5 separate regions of the Homo sapiens genome follow, and all the other regions are linked to region 1. Evidence: promoter capture Hi-C in 16 types of primary human blood cells and fetal thymus (Javierre and others, 2016). All regions are on one chromosome and are shown on one strand. The core of a region is centred on a gene start or on the middle of the fragment in contact, and the rest is flanking DNA. Distances in the headings are between cores, read along the strand shown. Region 1 holds the start of UPF1 (UPF1 RNA helicase and ATPase). Region 2 overlaps ELL (elongation factor for RNA polymerase II). Region 3 overlaps ELL (elongation factor for RNA polymerase II). Region 4 holds the start of ELL (elongation factor for RNA polymerase II). Region 5 has its middle 2.4 kb from the start of FKBP8.

Region 1 (2,714 bases), core at 154-2,653:
TCATAGCTCACCGCAGCCTCAAACTCCTGAGCTCAAGTGATTCTCTTGCCTCTACCTCCTAAAGTGCTGGGATTTCAGGAAAGAGCCACCTTGCCCAGGCTTCCTATGCCACCTTAATGGCAACAGAAACCCTAGGCTCAGAGAGGTTAAGTCACTTGTATAATTTCACACAGCTGGTAAGTGGTCAGGTCTAGAGTCCACCACAGACCATGTGCTTCCAGTTGTTTTGCTGTATACGTCCACTAAATAATAATCATAGCAAAAATAGTAATGGTATAATAACAGTGGCAGAGGCATCAGGAACAGCAGCAACCATCATTTCCAAGTGCCAGGCCCAGTACGTAAGACTATCCCCATTCATTTATTTTTACTTATTTTTGAGACAGGGTCTCGCTCTGTCACCCAGGCTGGAGTGCAGTGGTGCAATCTCGGCTTACTGCAGCCTCAACTTCCCAGGGTCAAGCGATCCTCCCACCTCAGCCTCCCTAGTAGCTGGGACTACAGGTGCGAACCACCACGCTTAGCTAATTTTTTTTTTTTTTTTTGAGACAGAGTCTCACTCTGTTGCCCAGGCTGGTGTGCAGTGGCACAATCTTGGCTCACTGCAACCTCCGCCTCCTGGGTTCAAGCGATTCTCCTGCCTCAGCCTCCTGAGTAGCTGGGACTACAGGCTCGTGCCACCACGCCTGGCTAATTTTTTGTATTTTTAGTGGAGACGGGGTTTCACCATGTTAGCCAGGATGGTCTCGATCTCCTGACGTCATGATCCACCCGCCTCGGCCTCCCAAAGTGCTGGGATTACAGGCGTGAGCCACCGCGCTCGGCCTAATTTTTATATTTTTTGTAGAGATGGAGTCTCACTCTGTCTCCCAGGCTGGTCTCGAACTCCTGAGTTCAAGCAGTTCTCCCGCCTCAGCCTCTGAGTGTTGGGATTACAGGTGTGACCACCGCGCCGAGCCCCACTCCCTTTTTAAACCAATGCACAGGGAGCATCTACTATGTGCGAGGCACCCTCCATTTTACAGATGGGGAAACTGAGTTCCAAGCAGCTTTTGCCAGGAGTGGGAGCGCACCGTCCCTGCCCAGTCTCTCCAGTTGGGCGTTCCGAGACCACCTATGTAGGGTATTCGGCTAGCGCTCAATTAAACCGAAACACCGTCGCAGCGACCACAGGTGCAGACCACCAAGTCCACACCGCCAGCCGCCCGGGCGTCCCCAATTAGCAGTTGGGGCGGGACCAAGTCCTCGAGCTGCCGCCGCAGCGGCGGTTGAAAGCCCCACCCCCTGCGCGTGCGCGGTGCGCGTCCCGTCTTCCTGCTGGGCACCAGGCGCCCGCGAAGAGCGCGCGCGCTTCCGCCGGCGTCGGGCTCGCGCACGCGCACGGCGACGGCGGCGGTGGCGGCAGTTCCTGCTCTAGGCTGCGAGCGGCTGGCGGCTTCGAGGGGAGCTGAGGCGCGGAGGGGCTCGGCGGCAGCGGCGGCGGCTCGGCACTGTTACCTCTCGGTCCGGCTGGCGCCGGGGCGCGCGGTTTGGTCCTTTCCGGGCGCGCGGGGGCGACAGCGGCAGCGACCCGAGGCCTGCGGCCTAGGCCTCAGCGCGGCGGCGGGCTCGAGTGCAGCGCGGAACCGGCCCGAGGGCCCTACCCGGAGGCACCATGAGCGTGGAGGCGTACGGGCCCAGCTCGCAGACTCTCACTTTCCTGGACACGGAGGAGGCCGAGCTGCTTGGCGCCGACACACAGGGCTCCGAGTTCGAGTTCACCGACTTTACTCTTCCTAGCCAGACGCAGACGCCCCCCGGCGGCCCCGGCGGCCCGGGCGGTGGCGGCGCGGGAGGCCCGGGCGGCGCGGGCGCGGGCGCTGCGGCGGGACAGCTCGACGCGCAGGTGAGCGGCACATGGCGGTGCCGGAAGCCCGGGCCCGGCCTCGGCGCCTGAGACCTGCCCCGAACTCGCCTCGGGCCCGGCCTGTGTTTGGCCGGAGTCCCCCATCGCGGCCGGGCCTGGGGCGATCTGCCCCGGGTCCCCTACTCTGGCTCGGCCTGAGCTTACCTGCCCCAGGTCCTGCAATCTGCCCGGGCCTGGCCTGATCTGCCCCGGGTCCCCCGCTCCGGCCGCGACCTGGCTGAGTTCCTTCGGCCCCCAACTCCTGGGCCGGGCAGACTTGCCTCGAGTCCTCCACTTCGTTCGGGACCGAGCTAACCTGACCCTGTTCCTTTACGCCAGCTGGGTTTGCTCCCCCTCCTGGGCCCGGGCTGACCTGCCTTGTGTCCCACAATCAGTCTGGCCTGGAGTAACCTGCCCCCTGACTTATCTGAGTTCTTCCATTCCATCCGGGCTAGGGTGACCTGCCCTGGTCCCTCTTTCGCAGGTCTCGGTATTCTGCCTCGAGTTCTCCTACGACCTGGGCCGGGTCTTGCTCAGGCCGGAGCTTGAGTGACTTCCCTCAGTCCCTTTCCGGGAGTATCCAGGGTGACCTGCCCTAATCCTGTCTCTGGCCTGGTCCGGGGGTCCTGCCCGGTCTCCCCATTGGTGGGTCTGGCCGCCTGTCCCACCTCCCATCTGTGGTCGCAGCCATCTGGGCACCCCACCTTTCACAGTCACGGAGCGTAGGTTCGACTTTCCCCATGCATAGGGGCGCTGGCCAGCGGAAGGTTGAGGCAGAGAAGAATTTTTGCCTCCCATGGAGGAGCACATATTGGCTGGCTATTAAGAT
Region 2 (2,714 bases), core at 113-2,612, 350 kb before region 1:
TTCACTTGGTGAACACCCAGGAGCCCGACTGCTGGGTTACAGAGTAGGTGTACATTTAATTTAATATGAAACTGCCAGGCTGGCTCCCAAAGTTGCTGTACCATTTTGTACTGCCGCCGGCAGCGAATGAGAGTTCCTGTTGCTCCCCATCCACGTCAACATTTAGTGCTGTCAGCTTATTTAAAATGTCAGCCATTCTGGTAGGTGTGTGGTGCAGTGACAGCTCGTGGAGGTTCATGTTTGGGTTTCCCTGCTGATTAAGCATGTTGAGCATCTTTTTACAGGCTAATGTGCCATTCTTCTAGCTTCAGTGGTGAAGCTGTACAAATCTTTATCCCATTTTTAAAAATTGGGTCATTTTCTTACTAAGTTTTGAGGTTTTTTTTTTTATATACAAGAGCTTTATCAGATAAATTTTACATTTTACTCCTAGTCCATGGCTTGTCTTTTCATTCCTTTTTTTTTTTTTTTTTTTTTTTTTTTTAAACAGGGTCTCGCCCTGTCACCTAGGCTGAAGTGCAGTGGTGTGATCTCAGCTCACTGCAACCTCCGCCTCCTGGGTTGAAGCAATTCTCCTGCCTCTGCCTCTGCCTCTGCCTCTGCCTCCCAAGTAGCTGGGACTACAGGTGCGTACTACCACACCCAGCTTATTTTTTTGTATTTTTAGTCGAGACGGGTTTTCACCATGTTGGCCAGGCTGATCTCAAACTCCTGACCTCAAGTGATTTCGGCCTCCCAAAATGCTGGGATTACAGGCGTGAGCCACTGCGCCTGGACTGCCTTTCCATTCTCTTAACAGTATCTCTCAAAATACAGAAGTTCTTAATTTTGATGGAGTGGAATTTTTCAATTTTTTTCTTTTATGGGTGGGTCTTGATTTTGTGTCTTAGTTCCTCCCATCTTTTTGGTTTTTGTTGTTGTTGTTGTTGTTGTTGTTGTTGTTGCTGCTGTTGTTTTGAGACAGGGCCTCACTCTGTTGCCCAGGCAGTGGGCAGTGGCACTATCACAGCTCACTGCAGCCACAGTCTCCTGGGCTCAAGAATCCTCCCACCTTATCCCCAAGCAGCTGTGCCACCATGCCCAGCTACGTTGTTTTTTTAACTCTTTTGTAGAGGTGGGGGTCTCCCTGTGTTGCCCAGGCTGGTCTCAAACTCCTGGGCTCAAGCGATCCTCTCACCTCAACTTCTCAAAGTGCTGGGATTATAAGCGTGAGCCATCACACTCCCATCTTTTTTTTAAATAGCTCTATTTTAGGAAAATCCTCCAAACTGCCATTCTTTACCAACTCCCCTCTCCCCTCCCAAACTAGCAGCTCTGGGTAACTCCTGCCTACACCCGTGGCTGCCACAGCCCCCAGTGAAGGGTCTCTCAGATTCCTTTGTCTGCATGCACCCTGGGTCATGACCACAGATGCTCCCTGGATATTCCCCGGATGCCACCGCCCACCTGGCAGTTGCAGTGCAGGGTTTTTGGACACTATCCAGGTCCTTCTTCCAGAAGGCGCTCAGCAGGTGAGCAGAAAGTGGCCTGTGTCTCATGGGAAGCCCCTCAGATGTCTGTCCATTCCTGCGTCATAGCTGGGGGTGGGGGAGCTGCTTGGACTCCCTGTCCGTAGAAATCACAGCCAAATCACACGCAAGGACTCGTGGTACCACAGACGGCCAGCCTCCATCACTAACCCACTCTCATCCTAAACTGCATGGGATCGGGTTCCGGTTGTTACAACTGAGGAAAATGAGGTACTGAGAGAGGACAGGGCTGCCCGAGGTCACAGCAGACCTCATCCCAACCTCACAGGAAAACTGAGCCCTGGGGTCCCCATGAAGATTTCACAACTTATCCAACCTCACATGATCCCAGGGTAGCAGGATATGACAAACATTTACTACACAATTCTTCAAGTTACAGTGCTTCTATGTCCCTGAGCCCTGCTTCATCAGACAGACAGAAGTCTCCCTCCAAGGGAGGGACAAGCACCCTGCCTGCCCTGCCCACCCTGCCTGCACCTCCATGGGTCAATCTCCAGGCATGGCCCAGGCCTGCTTCCAGGACAGTGCATCTCAGAGCCATGCAACCCATGCCTGGCACAAGCCCTCCTGCCAACACCTTAACTTTGCCTTTCCCCCTTATTATTCCACCTTTTGCATCTGCCTTTCTTCAAACAGGGAAAGACGCTGTCGTATGTGGGCACCTGCTGCACAAGTACACTCCATGGGCACCTGGGCCACAGTGTCAGGCCCCTCTGTCCCCTCTAGCGCACTCTGCAGTGTCTGAAACAGAGCAAATCTGCAAGTGCCAGTGTGATGGGCACAGAATCCCGTTTGGCAGCCAGACGCTGTGGTGGCTCACGCCTGTAATCCCAGCACTTTGGGAAGCCGAGGTGGGTGGATCACTTGAAGTCAAGAGTTCGAGACCAGCCTGGCCAACGTGGTGAAACCCCCATCTCTACTAAAAACACAAACTTTGGCCAGGCGTGGTGGCAGGTGCCTGAAATTCCAGCTACCCGGGAGGCTGAGGCAAGAAAATCGCTTGAACCTGGGAGGGGGAGGTTGCAGTGAGCCAAGATCATACCACTGCACTCCAGCCTGGGCAACAGAGTGAGACTCAGTCTCAAGAAAGAAAAATAAAAAATTTAAAAATTAGCCAGGTGTGGTAATGCGCACCTGCAGTCCCAGCTACTCAGGTGCTGAGGCAGAAGGATCACCTAAGCACAG
Region 3 (2,714 bases), core at 106-2,605, 330 kb before region 1:
TGTCATGTTGCAGATGCCAGGAGGAGGAGTGGGAACACGGGGTGGCAGCATGGGTTAGTGTTCTGCAAAGAAACCCAATGACCTTCCTGTTTTTGCTTCTGAGACAACTTAGGGAAGGAGTTTTGGGCCATCAATGCGGAATCCAAAAGCCCCTGTCTTGGGAAACCACGGGGCCACCTGGCCGGGTGTGCCAATGCCCAGCAGAGCTTCGGTTATTAACAGGGCAGGCCAGCGCTCCAGGCAGGCAGCTCGGCACTTCCAGTGGCTGCACACCCACCACACACAGGCACAGGGCTGGGAGGCACTGCTCGGCTCCCTGGGCCCTGCCAGAGTGGCTCCCTATCACTTGCTTATTTTATAAAGTGGCACTTTACAGCTGGTTTAATGTGGTAAAACAGGAACCTGGCTTAAAAAGAAAAGGGAACTCGCACTGTGCCAGGCTGGCACCCAGCGCAGGGACATCCCTGTAAGCATCCGTGGTCTGGAGAGTGTCCAGTGGCACCGCCCGCCCAGCAGTCAGGGCCGCGGGTATCTTTATGGCATCTGGGAGGGAGCACCCCCACCCTGGGGTGATAAGTGGGATGAAAAGAAGGTGACAGAGTTTTTCTGTCTTATTTCTGGAAAAGGCAACTGGCAAAGCTGGAGAACAGCAAGGGAGTGAAGCAGACCCATAGGAGCGAGGGAGCCCCAGCAAGTGGGGGGCACGTCTGGCCAGGCTCTGAGGAACTGAGCTGCCCGTACTGGGAATCCCAGGCAGGATGTGGGCTCTTGGAGGTGATGGAACAGACAGAACAGGCTATTGCAGGACACACGTTCCTCCTCACCCGGCCCCACCACATGTTCATCTAGTAACAGTTCACCAAGTGAGCTGATGTGGCCCCAGACACCCAGAGCTCAGGGTACGTGCAGAGCCACGGCTGCTGAGCACTCAGGGGCTGTGAGGAGATGTCTGAGCAGTGGTGGGAAGGGACGGGACCTGTTACTCTGGCCACCTGGAGCCAGCGGGAGTGGAGAATGGGCTGTTCCCAAGCACCCGCCTAGGGCTCAGAAACACCACCCTTCCTTGGGTCCTGCCGAGCTTCCCTCCTCAGGGAGCCTTCCCTGCTGCAGGCTGGATGAGGGCCCACGGGACTGTCACTCATCACTCCCGTTCAGAATGCACCTGGCTAACTGGAGTCACACGTGGGGGCCTGGCTGCTGCCTGGCCAAGGTTAAGGACACACACTCTGGCCAGACGCTAGGTCTGACCCCACTCCTATCCATGTGGACAACCCGCTCACTCACATCCCCCCGCCTGATCCAAGGGGCTCACTGAAGCACTGACTCCTCGGCATCCAGGGAGGCCTCGCCTGGTGGCTGCAGCGTGCAGAGGATCTGCGGGCTGTCACGGCGGATGCAGGGGTCAACTGTGCTGGCACCTCTGCTAAGCATGCATCACTTCATTTTGGCCTCCTCAGCCACTTGTGCCAACAGGCCAGGGACGGCACAGAGAGGCTGGAGGGGTGAGGCTGAGGAGGAGGGGAGGTGGGCAAAGGGCATCTGTCAGCCATCTACCTAAGGGTGTGCTCACTGACGCACAGAGGCCACTCCTGCTCTGTTTTTCCAAAGCAATCTGTGACTCTCGGGATTACCCACATCTCAAGTCACATCCTGATTGAAATCCATGACGCGTGGCTTGCTTTGCTAAATTTCCCCTACATTTTCTACAGAGCTCAGCATTCTTCAACTCCCATCTGAAATTGCCATGTACATCTCATCCCTGTCACGTTCATCTCTGCCTGGGAGGAAGGGGAAGTGGCTACAGACTCCAGAACCTGCAGCCTGGGTCCGGTCATCAGAGCAGTGATGCTCTCTGTCATTGGTCAGCAGAGGTTAGGCCCACCTGTCAGGCCTCAGAAGAGCCTGGCACCGCCCACAGGGTGGATCAACGGGTTAATAAGTCACAGCAGAAAACCTGAGGCTCGACTTTAAATAAACAGAACTCTCCCAGCTGCATCCCTGCCAAGGCCCGAGAGTGACACTGGCACATGAGCTATATCTCCCCCCACCAACACACCCCATGGGCTGTCATGAGAAACACTGCATATACCAGAACCCATTTACTCTGGGACACTCTCCACGGAGCCCTGCCACCACCTGTCCAGTGGACAGGGCCTGAGGGACACAAAGCCCCCACAGCCCTGAGCACCCGAGGAGCCACCTGGCCTGGGGATGTGTGATGCCTGCGCACAGGAGGCTCTCAGCCCACAGCTCCAGCAGAGGAAAAAACTCTTGCCTTGTGGAGACAACCCAGGCTTTGACTATTCTGGGCTGCCAGGGCTGTGGGAGCAGCAGGTCAAGGTTCAGGACATCTCACCCTCCTGCCATCATGGCCAAACCTCAGGCGACTGAGAACGATGGGCAACTTCTGTGTGCCAGAGGGCAGTGACATACCAGGACATCAGGGGAACACAAGCCACTGTCCCGTAGCCCCCACTCCTCTCCCATCCTCTCCTCCCCTCCCCTCTCCTCTGTGGTGTGCTTTCTTCTGCATCTGCCACAGCTCACCCAACAGCAAATGCAATCCCAACTAGTTAGGCTCTTGTTAGGACTGAAGATAGCTTTTGCTATTCTTCTCTACTCAATTCTTCATCCTAAGGATGCTGTGGCCAGTCACACCCTCCCACGGGCAAGGGCACCCGGCAATAAGCCCCAGCTACTGCCATTACTCATCC
Region 4 (2,714 bases), core at 106-2,605, 310 kb before region 1:
CCCCCACCCCCACCATCAACAGTATACACAAACACACACACACGCAGGGAGCAGGGCTCTCTGAGCCCGAGACTAGACCCACCCCCACTCCCTTTAGGGCAATGAAGCCCCCAATTTCCAGAAAAGGAGTTACAAGGTTCCTAAACCACTTCCCCTCGGGACCTGACCACTGGTCATCTGCAACTTCTGACCCAGCACAGACGGGGGGAGGGGGGGCCATGACACAAACAGAAATGAAAAAGGCAGGTTTCTGACCACGGCCCCAGATGCGCCCCAAAGTCAGGCCCAAGAGAACATACACAGCAGCCTCCCCTCCCCACCACCAGCCAGGTGGCAGAACCGAAACGCCTCAAACTTCCCCCAGATGGGCCCAAATCGGCCTCTGAGAAGTTCCAGAGTCAGCGGCCAGATGTGGTAGCCAGAGCTTCCTCCTGGGTGGCAGGGATCCCCTACATGTGCCCTGAGGATAACATCACAGCCGCCCCCAACACTTCCACTCTCCAAGGAACCTCTCTCCGGAGAGAGAGGGTCACCTGGGGGTAAGGGGAGCAGAAAGCTGGGACAAGCTGTCAGTTTCTGCCCAAACTCCCCGTCCCAAGAACCAAAGTGGCCCAACCTGAGTGGCTTCATCGGAACGCGTCAAAGCCAGCCCCCAGCTGCAAAGCCTTCCACCCAGACAGAACAGACCCCCACAAGTGCCTCGCTGACCACCCCCTGCCGGGCACCCAGACGATCGCTGCTTCCCAGGAGGACAGACACAGTCACCCCCACCAACGGCGCTGCCCCGGCCCCAGATGGAAAAGCCCCCAGCTTCCCCCTATCACGGTGCCGGGACCGTGCGGCCCACCGCCTCCTCGCCCCGCCGCCAGGTGCGCAAACTGGACCCTGCCCAGGTGCCCAGCAGGCCAGAAAGGCCCCGGACGCCGCCAGGTGCCGACACCGACGCCCCCCGGGCCCGGCGCGCGAGTCTGGGCCCCTCAGCAGCCCCGGGCCACCCGCCTGTATTGCCTCCTAGTGCTGAGAAGGAACGCGGTTCTCAGCGCTCCAGGCCGGACTGGCGCCCACTCCGCGCCCCGCCGGCCCAGGGACCCGCGAGCAGCACCACAGACCTAGCGTCTCCGAGCCCGGACGCCTCAGTGAGGGGAGCGCGAGGCCGGCCCGCGTCCGGACGTTCCCCACTGGCGCGCCGGGCGCCATGCCACTCACCTGTCTGGCGCGGTAGCTCTCGAAGGCCCTCAGGGCACTGTCGGTGAGCTTCACGTGGAACACCGACACCTTGCTGCCGTCGCTAACCCGCCCGCACGACAGCCCGTAGCTCCTATCCTCCTTCAGCGCCGCCATCTTGCGACCATCTCTCCCCCGCGCCCCCTTCCCGGCTCCAGCGCCGCCACGCCGGCCACGCCCCGCCCCGCCGCCCGCTGACGCGCTGCATTATTCATGAGACGCGGCTGGCCACGCCCCCCGAGTCCGACCAAACCAACAGTCGCCGCCACACCGGCAGGCAGCGCACTACATTATTCAGGAGACGCGCCTGGCCACGCCCCATGAGGGCCCCACAAGGCCCACAGTCAACGCCCCAAGTTGTTGCATATTCATAAGGCACTTATGGCCCCGCCTCTTCAGGCCCTAGGGGTGGCCACTTCCGTGAACGAACTCCGCCTCAACACGCGCACCCCTCCAGGCCCCGCCTCCATAGTATTATACATAACCCTGACTCAGCCAGCCAGGCGCGTCAAAGCCCCGCCCCTACAGCCGCTGACGTGATGCATTATTTATGAGATCTCTACAGTCTTCCGTCTTTGGCTTCTGTGGAAAGCCGCAGAGAGGGCGTGGAGGGGCGGAGCCGGCTCGAAACACGTGGGTGGGTAGGCCCCGCCGCGGGCCGGGAGGGTGGGCGTGGCTATGTAAACGGAGCGCGCGCGTTGGACGCTGGGTTGGACACATAAGGCATCCCTTAGGCGGGGTGGATGGGACTTCCACCCAGGGAAGGTGCTGGACCGGTAGGTGGAAGAGGAGCTGGTAAACTTTTTCTTATGAGATGAGTACTTTTAATAGGATAAAATCCTACATCCCCACAGTCCCTGAGCGATGGTGCAGTCCAGCTTCATTTTCCTATTTTAATTTTTTTTTGAGGGGTCTTGCTGTGTTGCCCAGGCTGGAGTGCAATGGCGCCATCATGGCTCACTGCACCCTCGACCTCCTGAACTCAAACTGATCCTCCTTGTCTGGGTCTGCTGAAATGCTAGGATTACAGGAGTGAGCCACCAAGCCCAGACTTCCATTTTCTTTTCTTTTCTTTTTTTTTTTTTTTGAGACGGAGTCTTGCTCATCAGCCCAGACTGGAGAACAGTGGCGCTATCTCGGCTCAATGCAACCATCGTCTCCTGAATTCAAGCGATTCTCCTGTCTCAGCCTCTCGAGTAGCTGGGATTACAGGCGCCCGCCATCATGCCCAGCTAATTTTTGTATTTTAGTAGAGATGGGGTTTCACCATGTTGACCAGGCTGGTCTTGAACTCCTGACCTCAGGTGATCCGCGCGCCTCGCCCTCCCAAAGTGCTAGGATTACAGGCGTGAGCCACCTCCCCCAGTTTTTGTTTGTTTGTTTGTTTTTAGACAGAGTTTCGATTTCCTTGCCCAGGCTGGAGTGCAGTGGTGTGATCTCGGCTCACTGCAACCACCGCCTCCTGGATTCAAGCAATTCTCCTGCCTCAG
Region 5 (2,714 bases), core at 145-2,644, 290 kb before region 1:
CTCCCAACCTCCCCAAGGCAAGACCAGGTGCCCCCTTTAGCTGTCTTGGCACAATGAAGTTGATGAACGTCCACTTCATAACTAGTTTACTTGGGTTTTTTGTTTGTTTGTTTGTTTTTGTTTTTTGAGAAGAAGTTTCACTCTTGTTGCCCAAGCTGGAGTGCAATGGCGCAATCTCAGCTCACCGCAACCGCTGCCTCCCAGGTTCAAGCGATTCTCCTGCCTCAGCCTTCCAAGTAGCTGGGAGTAGAGGCATGCACCACCATGCCTGGCTAACTTTGTATTTTTAGTAGACACGGGATTTCTTCATGTTGGTCAGGCTGGTCTCAAACTCCCGACCTCACGTGATCCGCCCACCTCGATGTACCAAAGATTACAGGCATGAGCCATCGTGCCTGGCCTTTTTTTTTTTTTTCTTTCTCTTTTTTTTTTGAGACAGAGTCTCTCTCTGTCGCCAGGCTGGAGTGCAGTGGCGCGATCTCGGCTCACTGCAACATCCACCTCCTAAGTTCCAACGATTCTCCTGCTTCAGCCTCCTGAGTAGCTGGGACTACAGGCACCCGCCACCATGCCCAGCTAATTTGTATATTTTTAGTAGAGACAGGGTTTCACCATGTTGGCCAGGATGGTCTGGAACTCCTGACCTCATGATCTGCCTGCCTCGGCTTCCCAAACTAGTTTACTTATATCTCTGCCTTTTTTTTTTTGAGATAGGGTCTTACTTTGAAACCCAGGCTGGAGTGCAGTGGCACGATCTCAGATCACTGCAACCATGTCTATCTCCTGGGCTCACGCAATCCTCCTGCCTCAGCCTCCTGAGTAGCTGGGCCCACAGGTGCACCATCATGTCCAGCTAATTTTTTTTTTTTTTTTTGAGACAGAGTCTCGCTGTGTAGCCCAGGCTAGAGTGCAGTGGCGCAATCTCGGCTCACTGCAAGCTCCGCCTCCCAGGTTCACACCATTCTCCTGCCTCAGCCTCCCAAGTAGCTGGGACTACAGGCGCCTGCCACCATGCCCGACTAATTTTTTGTATTTTTAGTAGAGTCAGCGTTTCATCGTGTTAGCCAGGATAGTCTCGATCTCCTGACCTTGTGATCTGCCCACCTCGGCCTCCCAAAGTGCTGAAATTACAGGCGTGAGCCATCGCGCCCGGCCCAATGTTTATATTTTTTGTAGAGATGGGGTTTCCCCATGTTGCCCAGGCTGGTCTCGAACTCCTGGGCTCAAGCAATCCTCCCACTTTGGCCTCCCAAACTGTTGGGATTATAGGCGTGAGCCACTGCTTTGATTTACCTCTGCCTTGCCCTCTACACTGGCAGAGCCCCAAAGTCTGGGAAGGCTTTGTTCTTTCTCATTGTTATAGCTCTGAGGCTTGCACAGTGCCTGCCACAAAAGGTAGTGGTGGGGTCTCACGGAAATCACTGAGGAAGGAAGGGAGGTTAAAGGTGGTAGCATAGCAGAGCTATGTAAGAAATCACCTGGAGGGCTGGGTGCGGTGGCTTATGCCAGTAATCCCAGCACTTTGGGAGGCCGAGGTGGGTGGATCACCTGAGGTCAGGAAATCTAGACCAGCCTGGCCAACATGGTGAAACCCCGTCTCTACTAAAAATACAAAAATTAGCCGGGTATGGTGGTGCATGCCTGTAATCTCAGATACTGGGGTGGCTGAGGCATGAGGACTGCTTGAACCCCAGGGGTGGAAGTTGCAGTGAGCAAGACCCAGTCTCAAAAACAGCCTTTGGGAGGCTGAGGCAGATGGTTCACCTGAAGTCAAGAGTTCGAGACCAGCCTGGCCAACATGGTGAAACCTGTCTCTGCGAAAAATACAGAAATTAGCCGGGTGCGGTGGCACATGCCTGTAATCCCAGCTACTTGGGAGGTTGAGGCAGGAGAATCGCTTGAACCCGGGAGGCAGATGTTGCAGCGAGCCAAGATCACGTCACCGTACTCCAGCCTGGGCAACCTAAGCCTGGGTAACGTAGTGAGAGCCTGCCTCTACAGAATATTAATTAATTAATTTGGAGACACAGTCTCCCTCTGTCTCCCACGTAGAGTGCAGTGGAACGATCTGGGCTCACTGCAACCTCTGACTCCCAGGTTCAAGCGATTCTCCTGCCTCAGCCTCCTAAGTAGCTGGGATTACAGGCGCCTGCCATGACACATGACTAATTTTTTTTTTGAGACAGAGTCTAGTGAGGCTGGAGTGCAATGGTGTGATCTCGGCTCACTGCAACCTCTGCCTCCCAGGTTGAAGCAATTCTCCTGCCTCAGCCTTCCTAGTAGCTGGGATTACAGGCGCCTGCCACCATGCCTGCCTAATTTTTTGTATTTTTAGTAGAGATGGGGGGGTTCCGCTATGTTGGCCAGGCTGGTCTTGAACTTCTGACCTTGTGATCCACCTGCCTTGGCCTCCCAAAGTGCTGGGATTACAGGCATGAGCCGTCACACCTGGCCTCTACAGAAAATTTAAAAATGTAGTCCCAGCTAAATGGGAGGCTGAGGTGGGAGGGATCCCTTGAACCCAGGAGGTCGAGGCTACAGTGAGTTATGATCAAAGTTCTGCACTGCAGCCTGAGCAACAAGGCAAGACGCTGTTTCTAAAATAATAGTAATAATTATTATTATAAATTAATAAGCTACTAAAATAAACTATAAAATAACACCACCAACAATAATAATAATGGCTGGCACTCATTGAACAGATATTTGCAGGC

The links. The method cuts DNA at HindIII sites, captures the fragments that hold promoters and counts their contacts. A CHiCAGO score of 5 or more calls a contact.
Region 2: a contact is called between a fragment that was not itself captured here and the fragment with the promoter of UPF1 in region 1, in 4 of 17 cell types (total B cells, naive CD8 T cells, naive CD4 T cells and 1 more). The highest score is 6.9, in total B cells.
Region 3: a contact is called between a fragment that was not itself captured here and the fragment with the promoter of UPF1 in region 1, in 7 of 17 cell types (fetal thymus, total CD4 T cells, naive CD8 T cells and 4 more). The highest score is 6.8, in fetal thymus.
Region 4: a contact is called between the fragment with the promoter of ELL here and the fragment with the promoter of UPF1 in region 1, in 11 of 17 cell types (naive CD8 T cells, naive B cells, non-activated CD4 T cells and 8 more). The highest score is 12.9, in naive CD8 T cells.
Region 5: a fragment that was not itself captured here is called in contact with the fragment with the promoter of UPF1 in region 1 in 3 of 17 cell types (non-activated CD4 T cells, naive B cells and total CD4 T cells); the score reaches 6.0 in non-activated CD4 T cells.

What each region holds. Positions count from the first base shown.
Region 1 is chr19:18,830,556-18,833,269 of GRCh38, forward strand. It overlaps UPF1 (UPF1 RNA helicase and ATPase), which reads left to right and starts at 1,404. Exons shown (of 24, transcript NM_002911.4): 1 at 1,404-1,885. The coding sequence starts at 1,655. RefSeq lists silencers at 1,208-1,467, 1,588-1,687, 1,838-1,927, 1,938-2,017. The HindIII fragment of the contact is 13,345 bases long and covers 1-2,714 here.
Region 2 is chr19:18,481,853-18,484,566 of GRCh38, forward strand. All of the region lies in intron 1 of ELL (elongation factor for RNA polymerase II), which reads right to left. Among named protein-coding and RNA genes, the nearest start is that of ELL, 39 kb to the right of the region's middle. RefSeq lists enhancers at 1,766-2,266, 2,267-2,714. The HindIII fragment of the contact is 4,478 bases long and covers 1-2,714 here.
Region 3 is chr19:18,502,706-18,505,419 of GRCh38, forward strand. The region is part of intron 1 of ELL (elongation factor for RNA polymerase II); the gene reads right to left. Among named protein-coding and RNA genes, the nearest start is that of ELL, 18 kb to the right of the region's middle. RefSeq lists an enhancer at 1,928-1,977. The HindIII fragment of the contact is 9,226 bases long and covers 1-2,714 here.
Region 4 is chr19:18,520,715-18,523,428 of GRCh38, forward strand. ELL (elongation factor for RNA polymerase II) reads right to left here and starts at 1,356. Exons shown (of 12, transcript NM_006532.4): 1 at 1,207-1,356. The coding sequence starts at 1,341. RefSeq lists silencers at 40-89, 820-1,129 and enhancers at 345-860, 861-1,376, 1,520-1,849. The HindIII fragment of the contact is 8,691 bases long and covers 1-2,714 here.
Region 5 is chr19:18,544,644-18,547,357 of GRCh38, forward strand. No RefSeq gene overlaps it. Among named protein-coding and RNA genes, the nearest start is that of FKBP8, 2.4 kb to the left of the region's middle. The HindIII fragment of the contact is 4,146 bases long and covers 1-2,714 here.